Linked DNA regions of Homo sapiens: region 2 is linked to region 1. Evidence: promoter capture Hi-C in 16 types of primary human blood cells and fetal thymus (Javierre and others, 2016). All regions are on one chromosome and are shown on one strand. The core of a region is centred on a gene start or on the middle of the fragment in contact, and the rest is flanking DNA. Distances in the headings are between cores, read along the strand shown.

The links. Contacts are between HindIII fragments. The CHiCAGO score rates a contact against its expected background, and 5 or more counts as called.
Region 2: a contact is called between a fragment that was not itself captured here and the fragment with the promoter of MORC2 in region 1, in 2 of 17 cell types (megakaryocytes and endothelial precursors). The highest score is 8.4, in megakaryocytes.

What each region holds. Positions count from the first base shown.
Region 1 is chr22:30,967,524-30,972,317 of GRCh38, reverse strand. It overlaps MORC2 (MORC family CW-type zinc finger 2), which reads left to right and starts at 3,544. Exons shown (of 26, transcript NM_001303256.3): 1 at 3,544-4,496. The coding sequence starts at 4,429. It overlaps TUG1 (taurine up-regulated 1), which reads right to left and starts at 3,053. Exons shown (of 3, transcript NM_001396518.1): 1 at 539-3,053. The coding sequence starts at 2,961. The coding sequence ends at 2,500. RefSeq lists a silencer at 2,533-2,782 and an enhancer at 2,813-3,142. The HindIII fragment of the contact is 3,441 bases long and covers 900-4,340 here.
Region 2 is chr22:31,056,072-31,060,865 of GRCh38, reverse strand. It overlaps the pseudogene RN7SL633P. Among named protein-coding and RNA genes, the nearest start is that of SMTN, 23 kb to the left of the region's middle. The HindIII fragment of the contact is 9,959 bases long and covers 1-4,794 here.

The DNA.
Region 1 (4,794 bases), core at 2,295-4,794:
TTGGTTTCTCCTTATGTCTGAGGGCTCCCTAGATCAAAATTTAGAATTAAAAAACATTAAAACATAAACATGATCCATATCTAGCGACTTTTCTCCTCATTAAGAGTAATGTAAGTTATCACATAGCAATTAAGAAAACACTTACTGAGTGGTTATTCTGATAGCCTGCTCTCTAAACTCCTCCTTCCTAATAAATGCATCTTGATATGTTGTGGTGTATGTGGGCAAAGATGCACTAAACAAGGACCCTGCTTTCAAGGAGTCTGCTATCTGCAAAGACAGTAAATGCAGGCAAGTAACTATTTTACAGGATTTTGTATACAGATAGAGGATACATAACGAAATGTCATAAAACTTTAAAGCTCTATTCTGGCTAGTTAGGAGACTCATGGAAAAGAGGGCATAAGAGTTGGATACTGAGAAAATGGCAGTTTTGACAGATGAAAAGCCACAGAGCAGCAGTTCCAAAGTAGAATGAGAGTATGAACAAAAGTGCAGAGATGGTAAAGGATAAGGCATTTTGGAAAATGGCAAGTACCATAATTCACTTTGGATGGAGCATCCTCAGTTTGCACTGAGGGTCTGGACAGAAACTCAGGTCTTCTAATTCCCAGTAACAGTGCTGGTGGTAGTGCTTGCTCAGTCGTTGTCTCTTTTCTCACAGCAAGGTCAACAGTCCCAAAATTCAAAAATAAAAAAAAATCTACCTCCAGTGTTCCTGCCGCATCGTGACAAGCTCTTTCGGGTTCCAGGTCCAGGTCTTGAAAATCTGGAAATCTGGAGTCCATGGCTGTGGCTACACTGAAAGTTATCTGCTCCAACTATTGCAGAACACTGTAGTGAAATCTTTTCAACCTCCAATCCTGGACATCTCATGTTTTGCCACAGAATTTCAAGCTTTGAGTTCCAGTTGTTTTTTTTCCCTCCTTTCTGCTGAGGAAAGCATCTTATCACCACAGTCTTAAGTCTTTTGAGGTACATCCGGATTTAATTACAAAAGAGCAAAAAGACCAACACTTTTTTTTCTCCAAGTCATTTCTCTGGAAGTGAGATTATCTGTCTCTGCCCTTTAGGAAAAGGGAATAGTCAATTGATTTTTTCAGACATTTGAATGAAATAGCATAACTGGCTAACATCTAATCAGACAAAATACACTTAAATGTGTTTGTGTTCACTTGCTTAGGGCTGTACCACTTGGTGAGCACCACTCCACAAAACGAAAATGTTTGAAATCCAATTGTTCAAACATTTTTATAGTGTTTGTTGGATAATGGCCTGAAATTTGATAAAAGCAGCTGACAACTAACAAAGAAGCAAAAACTGGCATCTTGGACATCCTAGTATTACACTTGCAAGCAATTAGAACACAAGGAGGGCCAAGGAAAAAGTTTAGCTTTGAATCACTTCCAAATCTACTGATTTTGAGGTTCCGCAGTAGTTCTAACAAAACTTTTCAGACAATGTTAACTTTCGATTAAGAAAGAAAAAAACCCCAAACATCTTCAGGAATTCCATGCCAGGTTCAGTCTCTTCCAGTGAGCCCGCTTGCTAAAAGTCCACGTGCACCATTAATTAGCTGGGCTGGCAGCACCATGTAAAAAGAAGCCTATTCACCACCAACCACACAGCCTAGACATGTAAAGTAGGATCAAGTAATGGATGACAACCATGGTCGTGGAATATGGTCAATGAGAGTCAGAAAAGTACAGGCACCAGTACAAGCAGCAGATAACAGAGTTGACGGGCCAAAGGATAAAATAGGCTTATTTAAATAGGATGCTACAGAACACATCCACTCCTAATTGTAGCTGCTTTACACTGGGTGCCATTGTACCATATGCATCAGCCACCCTTCAGGCACCCCATGGTGAAAGAAAAGGATTCAGAATAGAAGCCAAGCAGGGGACTGTTGTTAACCCCGAATATCCATTATGCATAGAAACAGCTCACATATCCCAGGGACTCAAACAGGGCTTCAAAATGGTTGTGAAGGGTCCCAAATGACATCTAGGCCTCAGTTTCCTCTCTGTAGCATGAAGAAATTGTGATTCTTAACTCTTCTGGGTCACAGCCCCCTTGGAAAACTTGCTAGCGATGGATCATCATTCCCCTAAAACGCACATTCCCACAAATTCCCATCATTCCCCCAAACCGCACATTCCCACAATTTCAGGAAGTTTGGGGATCCCCAACTCCAATCCAAGGTTCCCAGGTTCAAAACCCAAGGATTGGGGAACTGCTAAGTTTTCTTACAACTCAAAAAAAATTATAAACAATAACCATCCTTTACGTACACCCACGCTTTATAGTTTACAAAGCGATTTCAACCCCACACACATTGATAGGCAGAGGAGGAAACTGAGGCGCAGACAAATTACAGAGTGACTCGCCTAAGGTCACTCCGCCAACTGGTGGCTAGGCCCGGAAGAAAACCCAGCTCTTCCGACTCCGGAGCTCGTCTCCCCACCCCGGGGCTGCCGCCAGAGCTCCCGCCCCTCACTAAGGCGGCATAAGGAGGAAAAGGCAAAGTAGAAATCCCACAACCAACCATCCTCCGGCCCCCTCCTGCCCCCCCAACTGGGTCCTTGCAGGCCCCGAAGGGTGGCGCCAGGCCTCCAAGCCGGCCCCGGCCACCCCCGCCTCCCCGGCCGCTCCAAATCCCGCGGCCGCTGCCGCCGCCGCCTCCCCCGGAGCGGGGCGGAGCAGCTGCCCGCCGCCGCCGACCACCCGGACGACTCCTCGTCGAATCGCAAACGCATAGGCCGCCGCCCGAGTTCTGCGTACGAGAAGAAAGACGCGGCGCGAGCGCCAACGGCCACCGGGCGCGCGCCGCGGCGGCCGGGCCTGCGCCCCAAGAGCTGGATGCCAGAGCAGGAGAAAGAGCCGCCAACCGATCGCTCGATCGACCGCACGCCCGTTCCTTCGCCCTACCAGACCCGGGAGGGGGGGAGGGCGCGCCAGGGCTTCTTCGATTTAGGGGCCTGACTCCCCGGCGACGAGACAAGATGGCTCCTCCGGTCCGCACCGCAGCTACCGTCCCGGCTGCGTCGCTCGGCCCGCCCCCGGTACTGTTTCTTTAAATGGCGGAGAGGGTCAGGAAAGCAGGAAGAGAGGCGCACGCTGTCACGTGACAGGGGCGGGACCGGCCAACCAAGATCCGGTCACATGGGGACACGCAGCCCGCCAATCAGGAGGCTGTACATCAGGGCGGGGGCGGGAGGAGCTGCAGCTTTGTGATTGGCTGAATGCTCCGCGGAGGCCTCGGGGGCTTGGGGCGTCGGGGAGTGTGCGAGGTGGCCGGGGCTGTGTGCACTATCGGAGACAAAGCGGTGGCTGTGGTGTCTGTGACGGCGGCGGCAGAGCAGCTCTAAACGCCGAATTTCGTGTTGCTGAATCCTGTCACCATCTCAACTAGCGCGGCGCGCGGGCGGCGCGCGGGCGGCGGCGGAGGCAGCGGCGGCGGCGGCGGAGGCGGCAGCAGCACATGGTTCCAAGAGCGCTCTGCGGCTGTTGGGTTCCAATTCCGCGGGGAGGGACAAAGGCAGTTGTGAGATCCGGGTAGTGCCCGGTCAGGTGGTGCGCTCGCCACTGCCCTCGATCCGGTCCTTGGAAGCCGGGAGTAGCTCCTCTTCGTGGGGAGGCGGCCACGGGACCGAGGCCCGGGAAGGGCCTGGGAGGCTGAGGCTGTTGTCTGAGGGACGTGGGGGCGGGGCGCGGCCTGCCCGAGGTGCTGTGGGCGGGTCATTTGTGAGGTGTTTATGTGGGCCAAGTGTGAGGTAATCTGACCACCACCCTGAACTGGGTTTGGTCCGGCTTTGAAAAAAGAAATCGTGAGTGCCTAGGAGCTTTTTCACTTGGGAGGTGGTGAAGCTGCAACTTGCGCCATATAACACTCCGTCGACATCTTGGTCTCCGGTCTTGGGCCTGTTTAAGAATCCTGGCATCACGTGTGGCGAAGACATGGCTGATCAGTTTTCTGACAGAAGTGGGTAAATTTCCGCGTTGGTAAATTTCCTGACAGGAAATTTCGGGGAACCAAAAAAGGCTGGAAGAACATGAAGATGGAGCAGTCATAAACCACCCACTCAAGGACCATCTCCTTCAGGACCATCCACACGAGACTCAGATTGTCTGAATTGAGCTATCGCAACTTAATGCTAAAAGCTCCTTAAAGCTACAGATTTATGACATAGTTCCTTCCAAAATATTACATCATAAATCATTGAGAAGATTAAAAAAAAACACTTGAAGAAATTGTAGTTTTAAACATCTCTGCATATATTTTGGATAGCTACTAGGTTACTTTAACTGTCATTAAGGAGCACAGACTTACTGAAGCTTTACTGGACAGAATCCTGGGAAATCGATATCATTATAAGGTTATATTTCCCAGTTAGCGGGTGAAGGGCTGGAGACCTTATTGCAGTCATGGCTTTCACAAATTACAGCAGTCTGAATCGAGCTCAGCTAACCTTTGAATATCTGCACACAAATTCGTAAGTATCCTCTAGGTGCCACTGAGGTAACCAGTAACTCGTTCCTTGATATTATATGGAAATCGTTTCCCCAGAAAATTTTGCTTTTTCACTTTTTGAGATGTATCCCACTGGAGTGAAATGTGTCACTGGATATCTTGAGCTCTGTATTGAAGAACTGAGATCAGTGAAATACTTGTTGCTAATCCAGAAGAATCTGATTTTTGTTTATTGGATCAAAATTTTCTAAATGCAAACTTTAGTTATTTGAAGTCAATATGTTGAGTTGTTTCATTCAAGTGTTTATAGGAATCCAACA
Region 2 (4,794 bases), core at 611-3,110, 90 kb before region 1:
AGGACAATAATAATACTTGTTTATTGTGATGACAATTAAATAAGATAATGCAGGTAAGGTGCTTAGCAGAGGCTTGTACATAACCAACTCAGTAATGGTGCTTGTTTTTACCGCCATTTTTGTTGTTGTTTTTACAAATAAAGAAAACAAAGGCTCTGATAGGTGATATGTAGGCCAGGCACACAGCTATTGGTTGTTGAGCAGGATTTGAACCCACAGCTTTTATTTATTTATTTACTTATTTATTTACATTTTTAAATTTAATTTAATTAATTTTTTTTTTGAGATAGGGTCTCACTCATTGCCCAGGCTGCAGTGCAGTGATGTGATCTCAGCTCACTGCAACCTCTGCCTCCCGGGTTCAAGTGATTCTCCTGCCTTAGCCTCCTGAGTAGCTGGGACCACAGGCACATGACATCATGACCAGCTAATTTTTATATTCTTAGTAAAGACAGGGTTTCGCCATATCGGCCAGGCTGGTCTTGAACTCCTGACCTCAAGTGATCCGCCTGCCTTGGCCTCCTAAAGTGCTGGGATTACAGGCGTGAGCCCACTGCGCACAGCCTATTTATTTACTTTTAGAGACAGAGTCTCACTATGTTGTCTAGGGTGGAATGCAGTGGCTATTCACAGTCACAATCCCACCACTGATCAGCACAGTTTTGACCTGCTCCATTTTCATCTTGGGCCTGTTCACCCCTCCTTAGACACCCCTGCTTACAGGAGGTCACCATATTGAAGCTGAACTTAGCACAGACACTCGATCAATATAGTACACTACAGCCTAGAACTCTTGGGCTCAAGAATCCCTAGGCTTATCCTCCTGCCTCAGCCTTCCGAGGAGCGCGAACCACAGGGACACACCACTGTTCCCAGCACCATATCTTCTTGACAGAGACCAGGCTCTGAACCACTGTGTTCAAGTTACCCCACTGTGGGGCCTCTGTTCCTGCCCTAGGGGCCTCCCTGACTCAGCAACTGTGGGTGGCCTTGCTTCTGTGCCTGGACAGCAGAGGAGGTGAGAAGCCTTCCAGTGCCTTGAAAACTAAATACGGCCAGGCCAGGCCTCTGAGGCCCGACCCTCAGGCTTGGCCTGCTCCTGCCTGCTCATATGGGCTGTGGGGCGCTACTCCCTACTCAACTTCCTGGCTCTGCTCCAGGGGGCTCTGGCAGAACCTCCATCCAGATCCTCCTTCTCAGGATCTTGTTGGGAAAAATACTAAAAGAGAACATAAAATGAATGCCTCTTATCCATGCTGCAATAATTCCTAATTCTAAGACTTTGCTCAAGTAATTTGGTCCATGGAGTACCTCTCTAATCAGTGCTTAATGTGTCTTTGGTGGCCAGTGTGAGCTATCAGGAAGAGTTACTTTATAACTGTGAGACCTGCAGTAAGTCACTCATCTCATCCATCCACCCATCCATCCATCCATCCATCTACCCACCCATTGGGCACCTACCTGTGCCAAACACATTACATACAGACTCTTCTTCCAGACCGGAAACTCCATGAGAATTGCAGACCAGGTGTCAAAAGATAATTATTCAGGGCAGGCATGGTGGCTCACGCCTGTAATCCCAGCTCTTTGGGAGGCCGAGGTGGGCGGATCACTTGAGGTCAGGAGTTTGAGACCAGCCTGGCCAACATGGTGAAACCCTGCCTCTACTAGTAATGCAAAAATTAGCCAGGCATGGTGGCATGCATCTGTAATCCCAGCCACTTGGGAGGCTGAGACAGAGGAATCACTTGAATCCAGGAGGTAGAGGTTGCAGTGAGCCAAGATCGTGCCATTGCACTCCAGTCTAGGCAACAGAGTAAGACTCTGTCTCAAAAAAAAAAAAAGAAAAAAGAAAGATAATTATTCAACCAATATCCATGTGTCTCAATGTGTCTCCTCCAATTTATATATTGAAACGTAATCTGCAATGTGGTAGTATTAAGAGGTGGGACTTTTGGGGGCGATCACTTCATGAAGCTCCATCCTTATAAATGGGATTAGTGCCCTTATAAAAGAAGCCTGAGGGAGTTTGTTCACCCCTTCTACCATGTAAAGACATAGAAGACGTCATCTATGAGGAACAGGCCCTCATTGACACCCAATCTACTGACACCTTGTTCTTGGATTTCTCAGCCTCTAGAACTATGAGCAACATATTTCTGTTGTTTATATATTACTGAGTCTGAGGTATTTTGTTATAACAACAGGAGCAGACTAAGACAATGAACCAATGGGCCAAGGCTTGTCCTTACTACAGTCCTGGTAAGGCTGTTATCATTATCACCCCCATTTCACAGTTGAGAAGCCCGACACTCAGAGAGGGGAAGTACAAAGAACATACAGCCAGAGATGAGTGGAGCTGAGACTTGGCCAAGTTCTTAACCCTCCTAACAAAGGGAGGAACCATGCTGAGGGGCAGGCCCTGGAGGAGGACACGGACCATTTCTCCTTCAGCTCTTGGCTTCCTTGGTGGGAAGTGGATTAATTCTTTCTCTTGTCTCCCTCCTAACCAAGCCTTTGAGGGTGCCCAGCTCAGAGTCTACAAAGTCCTTTTCAAGGTTTCCAGAGCCCTCCTCTCAGCCCTGTAGGGGATTCAGGGCGGGGGGACCTTCCCCATGGTTCAGATGGGAGAATTGAGGCCTCTGTACTGCCCACAGTCACATGCCATATTAGGGGCCTGGAATCTCATGCTTCAAGAAACTGAGCATGGAACTGGCTGCTAGATATTTCCTGTAGGTGTGGTATGAAGCGCTTAGAGTCTGACAGGTCCTAGCTCTGCCACTTACAAGTTATGCAGTCTTAGAGGAATCACTTCACCCCTCTGAACCGCAGACTTCTCCCCTGAATAGTGAGGACAGTGCTAGTACCTATTTGAGAGATGTTGGGAGGATGAAATGAAAGAATGCTTGTGAAGCACTTAGCGTAGTACCTGGAACATAGTGAGTGCTCCAACAATGAGGTTATGATGGTACGAAGTACCTAAAACAGAACATCAGACTGGTAGGAGTATCCATGCTGAGGGTAATATTAGCTAATGTTTCTCTTTTTTTGAGACAGAATCTCGCTCTGTCACCCAGGCTGGAGTGCAATGGCCTGATCTCGGCTCACTTCAACCTCCACTTCCCAGGTTCAAGCAATTCTCCTGCCTCAGCCTCCCATGTAGCTGGGATTACAGGCACAAGCCACTATGCCCAGCTAATTTTTGTATTTTTAGTAGAGACAGGGTTTCACTGTGTTGGCCAGGCTGGTCTCCAACTCCTGGCCTCAAGTGATCCGCCCTCCTTGGCCTCCCAAATTGTTAGGATTACAGGCGTGAGCCACCATGCCTGGCCAGCTAATGTCTTTTTTATTGCTACTATGTACCAGACACAGTCATCTGGACAATATCCCTCTAACTTAGTGCCATTTTACAGATGTGATAACTAAGGCTTGAAATTGACTTGCCCTAGCTCCTTGCCCAGCAAGAGGAAGAGTCTGGGCCTGAACCTGAGTCTAAGTCCATGATCTCAGGAGCTCTGATCCACTGTCTTGGATTCTCCAACTCCATTATGTTGAAGCCAAGAGAGGAAAAGGGAGTTTCTCAGGGCACCATGGAAGGTGGGGGTAGGGCAGACCACACTGGGGAGGAATTTTTTCTTCCTGGCAGCTCTTCATGGGTCTGGATAATTCTCCAGCTTTAGGATTAAGGCAGAGCCTGACTAGCACATTCATAGTCCTCTGGAAGGATCCAGGGATCTGGCTTTTAGTCTCAGGCCAGCTAGCAGATTCCATTTCCACTCCCCCGACCCGAGCTTTAATGACACCTTCAGCCCCTACTCTACTCTGTGACTGCCCGTTCCCCACCCCCAGCTTTAATGCATGGGGGCCCCCTTTTTTAATCGGCTGAACCTTTAGCCAAAGAAAACTCTTTGGTGCCCGCAAAACCAGCCAGCTGCCCTGGAATGTTGGAGGGGGGTCATCAAGCTGTTTGTGAGCTGCTGGCAGAGAAAGGTGAACAGCTACCTTTTTGGGGGGAAAGTCAGAACATCATCTGTGGGAAAAGATCTAGGGCAGACCAGCTCAGAGGCTTGGGCCTCAGTTTCCCATATTCACCACCATGGCATGTATGGGGGATGAATAACTTCAGCTAAAGATTCAAGAACTATTGTTTGGGTGCTTGCTACATGCCAGGTACTGCACTGGCTGCTGCAGACACATCGGGGACAGAGTTAAGCCCTGTCCTTGGGGGCTGACATTCTAGCAGAAGGCAGTCGCTCAGTAAGTTTCCCAACAGGCTAGAGGCAGGTGCCTCAGGCCCATAAGACCTGATCAACACACTTGTGGCTGGATAGGTTTCAGAATTCATTTTTGTTTTTTTCAGCCAGGGTCTCGGTCTGTTATTCAGGCTGGAGTGCAGTGGCACAGTCATGGCTCACTGCAACCTCAAACTCCTGGGCTCAAGTGATCCTCCCGCCTCGGCCTCCCAAAGTGCTGGGATTACAGGCATGAGCCACTGCTCCCAGCCTCAGAATTCAGGATTTTTTTAGATTTTAAAAGGTAATCCAGTGGGGTCTGGATCCATCCATCTCCAATGAAACATACGAATATTTCTGTAGCTAGAAGTGTGAGTATTGACTCTAAGTGAAATGAACAGATTGCACACCCTCAGTCAATCCAGGTCAGATATTGCTCCTGAATGAGTTTTCACTAAGTGTGCAGAAAAGCCTCTGGCTGTCTGAATTTTCTGAACTTGGAGCTGTAGGTATGAGATTGAGGGCCTGATTCCTCTTCCCATTGTACAGATAAGAAAACTGA